3 separate regions of the Homo sapiens genome follow, and all the other regions are linked to region 3. Evidence: promoter capture Hi-C in 16 types of primary human blood cells and fetal thymus (Javierre and others, 2016). All regions are on one chromosome and are shown on one strand. The core of a region is centred on a gene start or on the middle of the fragment in contact, and the rest is flanking DNA. Distances in the headings are between cores, read along the strand shown.

Region 1 (4,185 bases), core at 667-3,166, 780 kb before region 3:
TGATGGGTATGCTAGAAGCTCAACCCCCACCATTATGCATATAATATCCATGTAACAAACAAGCACATGTACCCCCAAATCTAAAATTTCAACAAAGAAAACAAGGAGGTTACTAATAAACGTGTTGAAGTGAAATGTTGGGTCAAGAAGACATTCCTTGAATTCCTTTGTGTCTTCAATTACTCTTTTTCCCTCAAGAAACCCAAAATCATTCAAATTATTCCCCAAAAAGCTTATCTAAATTTTTAGAAGGCAAAACTTTTTTAAGTTAAATGTTTGAATACTATTCCGTAGAGCTACAGGTTATTTTTTGATCTAGTTTATGATATAAGTTGAGATACATTTTTATGTGCTAACATACACTATATATGATTTATCTTATTAATTGGAAGAGTAGATCATGTAATCAGTGTATATAGTAAATTTACAGTCATTTTATAGGACTGGGAACATGATTTTCATATTTTTAAATAATGTCAGATGTATAAATTTGTTATATCCTCAATTTTATGACAGATTGGCCACATCTATGATGCATTTGTTTGGTATTTTCATTCCCAAGTAGATAAGCACAATCGTTTTCAAGTCTTGTGATTTAGAGGATAATAGGAACCTGTCTGGTAGGGGAGCTAGGCTGCCAATGATGGAAAACAAGGAGGTAACAAGAAAGTTTATTGAAGAATATCCATCTTAATAATAATAGCAGACACTTCTACAGTATTTATTATGCTGTTTTAGCCAGTTCCGTATATTAATTTAATTACAACCCTAAGAGTTAGTTACAATTACTATCATTTCCATTTTCCATACGAGAAGACCAAAACCCATAGAGGGGAAGTTATTTGCCCTTGAGTCAGATAGCTAAAAATAGTAGAGACCAGAGGTGAGCTCAGGCAGCCTGACTGAAGAGTCTGGGTGCCTCACCACTATGCATACTGCCACCTGTGCTAGGAAAGGAAGGGCTATCTGGGAAGTCAAGCTGGGCAATTATACGTGATATATGCAAGGGGATTTTGAAGGCCCAGGAGAGGACATCTGCCTTCCCACTCCTCTCCCAATCTGTTTACTTGCAGATACCAGATGTTTCATTCATAGGCATAAGGTTTGGTCTATTGTTTACAATGCAACCAACCCCTGGGTGGGGTACTACTAAGATTTATGTGTTATTTTTACTTTCCCAGTCTGTTTCATTTTTATTTTATGAGTGTCATTTTTCATTGTACATTTTTATACAGTTGAATCTGTCCATCTTTTCCTTGTGGTTGCTTATTTGTCATTGTGGCTTTATAAGTTATCATCCCTCTAACGCTTCTACTATAAATGAAGCCATTTTGCCCCAAACTTAGGGGAAATAATGGCTACAACCTTCACATCAAATGCTGCCCTGTCCATTTTGAGATTTCTAAATGAAGCCTCTGTCATTGTCTTCTCAAGCCTAAATCAAGACAACTTATTTATAGTTTTTTCATGCTTCTCTCCTGTTTCTATTCACTGAATTATCCCCAAATTTGGGTTCTCCAAATGACTCTAAGAATTAGGGCAAGTGGTGAGAAGGATGAGGGATATTGACCTGTAATCAATGCCTATTATAATTCAACCAATGTGCTAGGTGCTTTCTCATAACTTATCTCTTTTCATTTAATCATTAAACAGCTCTGTGAGGGGGACAAGGGCCCTATGAGTAGTTCTAAAGTACCCCAGCCTGGGAAAGATGTGCAGGGAACCTGGTAAGACTCAGCCCTTTTGGAAACTCAATCCCATACTTAGTTCTGGTGATATAAAGGAGGCTGTTAGAAACGGAAGGTCATTGGAGCTAGACAGTCAGTTTTGGTCACTCTCAAAGAGGTGAGAATTGAAGAAGAGGGGAGGGTGTGGATGAAAGTTTACTAAGAAAATGCAGTAGATGTACACTAGACTGCTTTTATAATAGGATTTTTTACACTAGGGTTTTTCGGACTTGCAGAGGGGAAAAATGGGACTCCCCTACTTCCACTGCCAGATCTTTGTTCCCTGAAATTTGCATTTGGGGGATCTAGGTCAGTGACATTGGGTAGGTGAGAAAGAATAGAGGAGTGAAATTTCAATGACATAAAGCCATCAAAAACAGCAAGAATTTCAGCTGAAACATTGCCTGAGAATACCTAGCACTGTCTATGTAAGCAGATACAAATTCTGGCTAATCACCCACAAGTCCCATCTCCTAGGGGAATCTTCAAAGTTAAGGCTTCAAACACACCCCTCAACACCCCAGCTGAAGGGCTGAAGTGATGGAGAACATGAAAATTTTCTGAGAGAGTGTGAAGAATGAGATTACCTATCTCAGCTCCTAACTCCCTAACCTAGGGAGGTCAATTACCATTTCTGTTCTTCAGTTTTTCCATATATCACATGTGAGTGCCTTCTAGCTCTAACATCGTACGGTTCTCTTCCAGTCTTTCCTGTTTCAGTGAATGGCACTGACCTTATTACTGAAGCCAAAAATCCAGGAGTCATTTTAGATGCCTTATCTCGCCCTCCGTACCTCTCCATCCTATCCATGAGCTAATCATATCAGTTCTGTGCCCAATAATATGTTCCCAATCAGCCCATTTTTCTTCATATCTACTATTACTACTGTAATTCAAGCCACCATAATTTCTTTCCTGGACAACTGTAATAGTTTTCCCACTGGTTTTCCTACTTCCACTTTTGCCCCAATAAAATCTGTTCTCACAGCAGTCAGTGATGTTTAAAAACTAGATCATGTTGCTCCCCTGCTTAAAACCCTCAATGTTTGCCTATTGTAATTAGAATAAAACCCAGACTCATCACCATGGTTTACAAGACCCTGTTTTTAGAATAACAGTTCAATGACATAAACTGTCTCCTCAGTCTACTTCTGCTCCCCTTAATCAGCCAGAGCCCTACCTACTTTTTTTTTTCATAGGCTAAGCATTTTCTGACTCAGGACCATTGCACCGGCTATTCGTTCTGCCTGGAGCACTCTTCCTCCAGATCATTGTATGCCCAACTCCTTATGTCTCCACTACAATGTCATCTCTGAACAGGAGCCTTCCCTGACCATCCTAACTAAAACATTCCCCCTCCTGCCATCATTCTGTCCTATTATCCTCAATTAGTGTCTTATGGGCTTATCTCCCCCAAATATTATTATGTTTATTTTTTTTTCTTTTCTGTCATTATTGTCTGGCTCCTCCTACTAGAATGTAAACTTCCTAAGAACTGGGATCTTGGGTAACTAATAGAACATAGTAGGTGAGAGCATGGCTTCTGGAGGCAGACTCTCTAAATTTGAATCTCAGTTCTGCCACTTACTAGCTGTGTTACTCTGGGCAAGTTACTTAACTTCTCTGTGCCTCAACTTCCTCTTCTGTAAAATAAGGATGATAATAATATATACTTCCTGTGAAGTTTTTGCAAGGATTAAACTAACTTAATACATGCAAAGCACTATATATCCCTGGAACCTAGGAGAGTGCCTGGCATGTAGTAAGTGTTCAGTAAATATTTGTTGGCTGTTTGCATGAATTAATCCTCGATACCTCCTGCTGTTTCCCTCCCTTCCTCTCTCATCCTGCCTAGTTTTGTTCAGGAAGCTTTTCCCTGACTCCTTGCCCACTTCTCAGGACTAAATTGGTTCTCCCCTTATGTGTGTGTGTCTTGCTCACAGAACCTAGACTTATTTCAAGCCCTGATTGCTAGGTATAACTATATATGTATGCATGATCTTTGTAATAGCTGGTCTCTCTCACTAAATGGTAAGCTTGGTAAGGGCAGGGCCCATGTCTGTCGTATCTGCTATGAAATCTTCACTGAAACCTCGATGGTTCCTGACATATCATAGGTGCACAATAAACATTTTTGGGCTGAAAACTTTTGGCTCACTTTTCTCTTAGAAATGCTGATTAAGAAATATAATGAGAAATTTAATAAGTAATTTGCACTACTTTTTGAAAGGCAATTTGGAACCAAGACTGTTGTTGCATCTCTGCCTCCTTTTAGTTTAGTTCACTGTTGAAGTACAAAGAAATATCTGTGAATTCAATATTCTGGCCTCCATTTTTAAAGTCTTGATCTATTCCCTGAAAGTATAATCGAGACTGACTGGCTTCCCTTTTGCTAATTTCTTGCATTTTAATGGTATTAACCCCAACATACCCTGCCTTATTGCCTTAGCAATAAGAA
Region 2 (4,218 bases), core at 1,506-4,005, 850 kb after region 3:
TACAGTATTCTTAGCTGGCAGGTTTTTTTCCTTTAGCACTTTGGATGTCATCCCACTCCCTCCTGGCCTGAAAGGTTTCTGTTGAGAAACCTGCAGCTAGATGTATCAGAGGTCCTTTATAGGTTATTTGCTTTTTTTCCCCATTTCTATAATCTTATCTTTGTCCTGTCTTTTAAGTATCTGATTATAATATGCCTTACAGTAGCAGTAGTAGGTTGAATCTGCTTGGTGACCTTTGATCTTCCTATACCTGGATATTTGTGTCTTTTCCTACATTTGGAATGTTTATTATTATTATTTTCTTGAATAGTCTTTCTACCCCTTTCTCTTTTTCTATGCCCTCTTTAAAGCCAATGGCTCTTACATTTGGTCTTATGAGGCTATCCCATAGGTTTAATAAGTATTTTTCATTGCTTTTAATTCTTCTTTTCTTTTGTCACTTCTGATTGTATATATAAATAAATATATATATATATATATATATATATTTTTTTTTTTTTTTTTTTTTTTTTTTTTTTGAGACAGAGTCTCGGTCTGTCACCCAGACTGGAGTGCAGTGGTGTGATCTCAGCTCACTGCAAGCTCTGCCTCCCAGGTTCATGCCATTCTCCTGCCTCAGCCTCCCAAGTAGCTGGGACTACAGGTACCCGCCACCACGCCCGGCTAATTTTTTGTATTTTTAGTAGAGATGGGGTTTCACTGTGTTAGCCAGGATGGTCTCAATCTCCTGACCTCACGATCCACCTGCCTCGGCCTCCCAAAGTGCTGGGATTACAGGTGTGAGCCACCGCACCCGGCCTGATTGTATATTTTTAAATAGTTTGTATTTGAGCTCACTGATTATTTCTTCTGCTTGATCAAATCTACTGTTGTAATACCATAATGCATTTGTAATTCCATCCATTATATTTTTCACCTCTATGATTTGTTTGATTTTTTATTATTTCAATCTCTTTGTTATATTTCTCTTATAAATTTCTTAATTGCTTCTCAGTGAAGTTCACTGAGCTTCTTTGAAACAGCTATTTTGAATTCTCTGAGAGGTCACACAAATCCATCTTTCTAGGGTTGGTTACTGGCACCTTCTTTAGTTAGTTCAGTGAGGTCATATTTCCCTGAATGCTCTTGATACTTAAAGACATTCATCAATGCCTGGGCTTATTGAATCACTTTTTTTAATGATGGCTGCTTTAAAATCTATTTCAAATATTTCCAACATCGATTTTTTATCTGTTTTGGGCACCTGTTAATTGTCTTGTCTCTTTTAAGTTGTGATTTCCCTTGTTCCTTGTATGATTTTTTTTTAATTGCATCTTAGTCACTTTTTAATTTTATATCATGAGACTCTGTGTTCTCTGTAAACTTTTTATTGGAGAGCCCCCCTATTGTTTTGTGGCTGAAGGGCTGCTTTTGTATATATGTTCAGCTTCTTCTGTTAGGTTCCCCTGACACAACCTTTGAAAAAATGCAGCACTAACTCACACTGCCTCATTGAACATGGGCAGTACAGAAGTTCAGCTCCCATCCCAAATTTGCTGACACCTTCGTGGTGATAATGGGTTACAGGTTCATACCATCTTATGACCTCAAAGTGGGAGTGGGGGCTTATCTGAACTCTGGGACCCATTGACACAAAAGGTTTAGGGAAAGTTGAGTACCATCTAGTCCCATCATGTTTCCCTTTGTTCTGTCTCACTGACTGTGGATGAGGATGGAAGGTCAGCTACTCACTGGTTTTCACTGACATTAGGGGTATAGGGAACCAGAGTGCTGACTAGCCCTGACTTGCTCTACTGTATTCAATCTCATTGCTGTCAGGTTTATATGGGGTGTGAGTGTATCATAACAATTACTAGCACTACCTCACACTACCAGATGAATGTGGTGGAGCAACTTACCATTTGACCTTGCTGACACTATCCTGGCAGGGGAATCAGAGTACCATTTGCTTCTGCCAGAGAGGTAGTAGATCAGCTCTTTGTTCAGCATCACCAGTATTTGTCTTCCAGGGGAATAAAAACACTGCCTGTTTTCTGTCAGATGAAGCATGGAAGATCAGCTCTCTGCTTGGTAACACCAACACTACATTGTTAGGGGAACTGGAATGTCAGCTACTTCCACCAACAGTGGATGAAATATCAGTTCTCAACTTTGAGGTTTTTGACTAACTTTGTTCCACACCACAAACTATACCCCCTTTTCCTTATCACAACGAACTCTGTGCTCTTGTCACAAACTCCTGACTAGTTTGTCACATATCCTGTAACCATTCACCCTCTATGTCGTTCCTTGAGCTCTTTGAAAATACCTCACTACACTGCCACCCTCTGAATATCTTCTTTTGTTGTTATTTTAGACATTCAAGTAGTCTTTGCTGATCTCCCCAGCCATAAAAAATCACTACCTCCTTTGGGTCCCCTAGTGCTTCAGTTGTACCTCTTTTATAGCATGCATTATAATCTTTTGTGCACACTGGAATTAACAATAGTTATACCTCCCTCCACCACCCCTCCAATTATAAATTAACACTGAGTATTCCAAATTAATTTTCACTAATGTTTATTTATTAAGAAGTCAATCTTCCAGAAGCTTCCAGTATTTGAAATATTGCTCTGAAATTGGATATAAGGAACAAATCATGCCATAGCCCTCCTTGATTCACAAGCCCTGGCCAAGAGGTCTTGAGTGTAAAACAGAGGAAAGGTTTAGAGGTGGGGTATGAGCTGGGTGGTTTGTAAAAAGATGTAATAAGACAAAATAACTTCTTTCAGGAGATGACTAGTTAGGAGACAACTGAGTACTTACTATGTACCAGTTCATGTGCTGAGAGATTTGTGTGTATTTATCTAATTTAATCCTCACACTTACACTTTGAGGTAAGTTTTATTGTTATCCACACATGTAGGTTGATGAAAGCTTGCCCCCGCCCCACTTGCTTTAATGTTTTCTCCTAAGCATTTTCAGACTTATGGGCACATGTATTCACAGGGTCAGTGATTTAGGTGTTTTAAAAGGATAAAATTGCTGAGGGAGAGCCTGAGTTGCCAGAACTGTAGTCGTCAAAAGCTTGTGTAAGGCTACTTGTTTCACTGTGGAAGATGTCTTTGCATTGGGGCAGGGCAGCTGAAAGCAATTATTTATTCATTTAACAAATGTTTATTGAGTCTCTATTCTGTGTAGGGTATTTGGGATGCAAGATAAAAATCCCTTCTTGAATAAGTTTATTGTCCAGTGGGAGTCATACAAAGTGAACATTATATCAGCATGATAAGGCCTTTTAAATCTATATGTTAGTGAATGGTCTGAATATTAGAATCATAATTTTGGAGAAGAAAGGGTATTCGAATTTTTTTTTGTCTCTTCAGGCCACTTTGTGGGGTTGTAAGCAAGAATTCCCTTGAAGGATGTAACCAAAGGCCTGAGGAAACTGTTTTCCCTGCATTTGTGTGCCCTGTGGGTCATCTTCTTCTTTCATGTGTCAACTGCTCTTCTGAGCAAAAAGTGCTTGGTGTATCTTGGTCTGGGGAATTATTTGGAAGACATTATTTGTGGAACATAATGGCATAACATTTACATACGTTCACCTTCTGACTTTGAGTATGAATGTGTAGGTTGTGTATATGTGTGAATATATATACACCACGATGTCATTCTAAGTGTTTGGAAATAACTGTTCATACATGTAGTTTACCTTCTTCCTTGGAATTACTATCTTGTAATATGGCATTAAAGAATTATCCCATCTCTGAAGTCCTTTGCCTGGGAAACATGGTGAACTGGAGGATCCTTACACATTCTGTGTGACCAGCTATTAAACAGAATGAGGACTAGGTCTCTCTGTCACTGACTTGGAAGGTAATGAAATGTTCAGGCAACCAGTATTGACACCTTGCAGCTTTTGCCCCGGTTTTGTTTCCAGGTGAATTAATTGCCTTTTTTACTCATGATTATATGACGCTTTCTCTTTTCACCAGTGAAGAGTAGAGGAATGAAAATGAGAACCCTAGACTCTTCTGGATTTTAATGTCATCTTGTAAGTGGGATATAGTGTTAAAAGCTTTACAGACATTCTCATTTAATCCTCATAGCAGCTCTGTGACTTAAGGTAAGTGAAATTATGGACACTTTCTTTTCTTGCAGGTTTTCGATATAAGCATGCAGCACTTTTATAATCAGAAAAACAGCAAATATATACACAAAAAATCCCTTCTTTCTCTC
Region 3 (4,650 bases), core at 755-3,254:
ACAACTGAGACTGCTCTGGCCCTTTGTTTCCCTGGACCCCAGGTTTGCAAACTGCCTTCTCATAATCTTAGTCTAATTCAAAGAATCAAGGTTCTGAGTGAAATGTGAGCAAGTGGCAGTGACCAGAGGCACGAGGTAGGGAGGAAGTCTATAATGGAGATTCTGGAAAAGAAAATAAACTTCCAAATCAGGCCCACAAATGAGAATCAGGACTTTGCAAAGCAGGAAAGCATAGCCCCAGGGAAACTTTTATAGTCCAGCCATCCAGATGGGAAAAAAGTTGCATAATGAGCCAGCAGCAGCTCCCTACTCCTCATCGTTTATTTAGACTCAGTACTAGGATGGGAGTCTGATGTTCAATATTGATTTTTGTTGGCAATGTATAGAATGCCATGGAAGGTCATGGAACATCTATATTTTCTATAATATTCCGTGGAAGATCATGGAATATTATAGAAAAAAATGAGTTGAACTGTCAGATCTCAAAGATATCAAGGGAGCCTGATGATGCTTACCCTCTCCTTGTGGAGGTGGGGTGATGCCCTGGCCCAGAGAAAAAAATGAATTGGCCAAGGTGTCCAGCAAGTCTGAGGTAGAGCTAGAGTCAGATCCCTAGCAGCCATGTCAGTTCCTGTGCTCTACACATGCAGAGGCAGCAGTCCACCTCTTACCAGTTCAGCAGCTGGATCTTTTCAAGACTGTCAGGACCCAGAAGCAGCAGAGAACACTCCTGCAATGCAAAAATAGCACGCATTGTTCTCTAATCCTTCTCTCTATCCTCAGCTTTAATCCACCCACCTCCCTTTTTAGACACACACAGAGTTTTAGGGCTGGGCCTTCTGGATATTCTTGAACTAGTGGTGGAACTAGATTCTTTGCTGCCTCAGCTCACCTGGCCCTGGCAGCCACTGATGCCACTTAATGTCCTTAGGCTAGAGACCCAAGTTCGCCGGGCTCCCTGCCACATCCCACACACAGTAGCAGACAAGGCTGGTACAGGCCTCCTCACTTTGTCCTCAGCCTGACCTCCGGTTTGGGCCCAGACAAGATTTTCCTCTCAATATTTAGACTTTTCAAGGAAAAAGGCCTGCCGAAAGCCAGGCTCACAAAGGATGGGGGAAGGGGGACTCTGGAGACCTTGGGGATTCCCTCCACATTCCATAGAAGGTGCGAAATTTGGGTGAGGGTCAAACTATGGAAACAGGTATCATCTCAGAGAAGAAAAGTGAAAGCAATCCTGGAAAGGGAGCCCGGGGCTCTGGATTCCAAATTGGCCCTTGTCGCCGGCAGGCTGGGTAACTGTGGGGAGGGACTTTCCCCACTCTGGGCAGCAGAGGGCCCGTCGGTAACGGGTGGAAGTTGGCCTCTATGGTCTCTAAGGGCACTGGTGTGCCAGAGAGGCGGACGAAGTTAGGGCGCAGGCGCTGCAGCTAGCTTTCCTGGCAGGTGAGTCCCTCCTCTGGGTGGCCTGGCGGCGCGATCCGCAGGGCCTTGTCTCTACGACTAAGGATAGGCCGGCCCTTAGGTTTCTGCAGTCTTCCCAGATTCCTCAACCTCTCTGCCTCGTTACTCCCCGCCGGCCTCTAGCTCAGGAATAAACGTCCTGGTGGCGGCCAGGGCACAGTACCGCGAATGCACAGCGGCCACAGAAATGGGAGTGCGTGAAAACCGAAACCGATCCGGCGAGCCCCATCCGGGCAGGACTGGCTCCTTGAGGCCACGGTGTAGCCACGCCACTACCAGCCCGGCGTGGGGGCGGGAGTGGGGAGCCCCAGCCAGTGGTTCCGCACCCTCTCCGCCCCCTGCCAACACCACGCCTGCACTTATTTGCATTTAAAGAGAAACGCACCAAGGAAAACAGTGGGCGGGCCGGGGCACGCCTTCCCACCATAGCGATTGGGCCATATGCCTGCCAATCAGGACGCAGATGCCCCACCCGGTGGCCTTGGAGTACTGGGGGAGGGGGTATGGGGGAGCTACCCAAAGCCTGGGGAAGGGGAGTCAGTGCTGGAGGTGACTGGAGCCGCGGCGACGGCGGCAGCAGCTGCGGTGGCGGCGCTCTCAGCCGTGGCAGCCGAGGCTGCAGCCCGGCCCAGGGCGGCTCAGCGGACAATAACCGGGCTAGGAACCTGACCGGGCTGGGTAAGCGTTGCGTACAGCCAGGAGCCTCCGCCTGCCCGCGGTCGGGTGCATTCCCGCGTGCTCTGCTCCTACGGACTGGAGGAGGGCACTAAGGACTAGGCGGGTCGGAGTCCCGGTCGCTCGCCCCTCTCCTTTGGAACCCGCTTTGCGGACTGTCGGGTGGAGAGGCAGAGCGGCCTTGAGTCCCCTGGGCACAAGCGACCACGGCTGGGGGGAGGGGGGTTGGGGAGGGCGGGTAGGAAGGCAGGCTAGCCTGGGCCAAGCCTCCCGGCTTTCGGGGGGGCGGGGATGGGCCCGCACGTGCTGCCGCACAGTCCCGGGAAGGGCGCCGCCAGCCAGCACCCCAAGCCATGCATTTGTAGGCCAGGAGCTCTGCAGCTTTGTTGTAGCACATTTGCTGGAACAGCTGTGTAACGCGGGTACCGCTCACCCCTCTCTCCGGCTGCCTGGCTGCCGCCCCTCCCCTCCCCTGTGCATCTCCAGCCTCTCCCTCCTTTCTGCGGACTCAAGCTGGCGTGCTGGCTTGGGCCCGACGGAGACCGGCTTTGGCGTGGATTGGGACATCCACAGACTGCCCCCTCCCCAGAGGAGCTCAGTTGGGCCTGTGGGCTGAGCTCAGTCGCACACTTCCCTTCAGAACCTTGGCCTTGTGGCCCCAACTAGCCGCGCCCCTCCTCCTGGGCCTCCGGGCGCATCTGGCGCCCGCCCCCGCGGTCGGGCAGGCTGGCTGGCAGCCGGGCTCTTGCTGGTCCTTGGGTTAGAGCAGCGGCGCAAGCTAGTCCTTGAGTTAGAGCTGCAAGGCCGCTTTGTCTCCCGCCTCGCCTCGCCTCACCTCCTTTTCCCTTGGAGGATACTGGCCGCGTTTTCCTCTCCAGCCTCCCGTTTAAAAATAGCAATAGGCACGGTGTTTGGGGGGCATTTCCTTGCCAGAGGCCGAAGGAGCCCTCATTGTAGTACGGAACGTATCATACCATCTCTGTGTACAGGAGAGCTAGCGAGGTGGCCAAACCCTCCAACTTCGCAGTTACTTAACATACCCAGCCCGCCAGGCCCCTGTCATTGTCTGCTGGAGACACTTCTGACACTGGTGACCGCCCGAACGCTGGACTTTGCTTGGCTCCCCCGGTGGTGAGGGGCTGTGCCCGCTACATGCGTCACAGCCCAAGCGCCTAGGCGGCAGCTGGACTGGCCCCGCAGAGCTGGTCTCCGTTTGGCCAGGCTGCTTTCGGCAAGGGCCGCGGGGTCAAGGCGAGCCTTGTTCCACACACAAACATCTTCCTCTGCGGCTCTGCCTGCCTGCTGCAGCGGCGTGGGCATGGGCAAGGCAGAGGGCACTGCACTGTTGGACTGCCTGCCCCACCGGGATTCCAGCAGAGCCCCCTCCCCCAGTGTGGCTCCCCTCATTCGGCACCACCCACTGCACAGTCACTGCACCATGGTGCACCTCTGGCAGTGGGCTCTCTAGGCCTTTTTGAGGAATAGGACAGAGGAAGCCACTGGGGGCTTGGTAAGCTCTTGGACCTTTGATTAACCTCTGGTGTGGAGAGCCCTGTGGGCTGCAGGGCCCAGGCAAAGCTTGGGCACTTTGAGGAGGGGCAACGAGACCCAGTAAATTCCTCACTTGGGGGAAGGCTAGCTCTGGACCTTTATGACAGGAGCCAGGACCACAGATATCACACTACAGTCACCTCCTCCCACCTTGATTAGGCCCCAACACAAACCTCTACTTGCAGCTGGGCATCTCTAGCCCAGGGCTGGACCTGCCCTCTGCCTTGTCTCAGGCCAGCAGGCACCTAATGTATCTGCTCTATGTAACTCCCTTCCCCACACCCAAACCCACTCAGCCTACACCTGTCCAAATCTTCTTCCTTCTCAAACCTCAGTTCTGGGCCTTCCTTTTCCTTGGTGCCTTTCTGCCTGGCTCTTGCCCACCCATGGTGACTTCTTTCTTCTCAGAACTCCTCCAGGGCTGCCTACTTCTCCTGGGCATATTCAGGCTTAAATTATAATAGGATGCAGACTATAATTAAGTTGGCCTGCCTCTGTTTTGTCTGATATCATGGATGTCTGGGTTCTCTCAGAACCCTTTGGAGGAGTAAATAAAACCTGGACCTCAGCCACAACCCTCTCAAAGCCAAGCAGTGCAGAGCAGTTAATGATTGTTCCGGAAGGACTTGCTTTCTTTGTAGAGTTTTCCAGAAGACCTTTACCTTTCCAACTTGCGCTTGTCCTGATTCATATGAAAGTGGCTAGAGAAATGATACTCAAGGCTCAGATATGTATTGAGTGTGCCTAATGAGGATGGATTAGAAGGGGGATGATTGCAACTACAAGAAAAAAATCATGATATATCTTCCCCCAACAACAGGCCCAGGATTTGGAATGCTCAGATCCCAGACCATGCATATCTTTGGTTGCTGATTCATGAGCCAAGAGACAAACTACTTGGAGAGAGATGAAAGATCTGTATAAGCAGGGGGATCATCCATGGAAGCTGCCAGAAAGTAG

Evidence for each region. The method cuts DNA at HindIII sites, captures the fragments that hold promoters and counts their contacts. A CHiCAGO score of 5 or more calls a contact.
Region 1: a fragment that was not itself captured here is called in contact with the fragment with the promoter of AMER1 in region 3 in 7 of 17 cell types (non-activated CD4 T cells, naive CD4 T cells, total B cells and 4 more); the score reaches 8.9 in non-activated CD4 T cells.
Region 2: a fragment that was not itself captured here is called in contact with the fragment with the promoter of AMER1 in region 3 in 2 of 17 cell types (monocytes and total CD8 T cells); the score reaches 10.1 in monocytes.

Annotation. Positions count from the first base shown.
Region 1 is chrX:64,979,850-64,984,034 of GRCh38, reverse strand. It overlaps a transcript of ZC4H2 not described here. Among named protein-coding and RNA genes, the nearest start is that of ZC4H2, 5.5 kb to the right of the region's middle. The HindIII fragment of the contact is 3,364 bases long and covers 235-3,598 here.
Region 2 is chrX:63,352,313-63,356,530 of GRCh38, reverse strand. No RefSeq gene overlaps it. Among named protein-coding and RNA genes, the nearest start is that of SPIN4, 3.1 kb to the right of the region's middle. The HindIII fragment of the contact is 327 bases long and covers 2,592-2,918 here.
Region 3 is chrX:64,203,062-64,207,711 of GRCh38, reverse strand. It overlaps AMER1 (APC membrane recruitment protein 1), which reads left to right and starts at 2,004. Exons shown (of 2, transcript NM_152424.4): 1 at 2,004-2,142. LOC112268307 reads right to left here and starts at 1,766. Exons shown (of 4, transcript XM_047442706.1): 1 at 1,628-1,766; 2 at 672-730. The coding sequence starts at 1,693. RefSeq lists an enhancer at 1,468-1,627 and silencers at 1,758-1,857, 2,838-2,897. The HindIII fragment of the contact is 4,951 bases long and covers 1-3,719 here.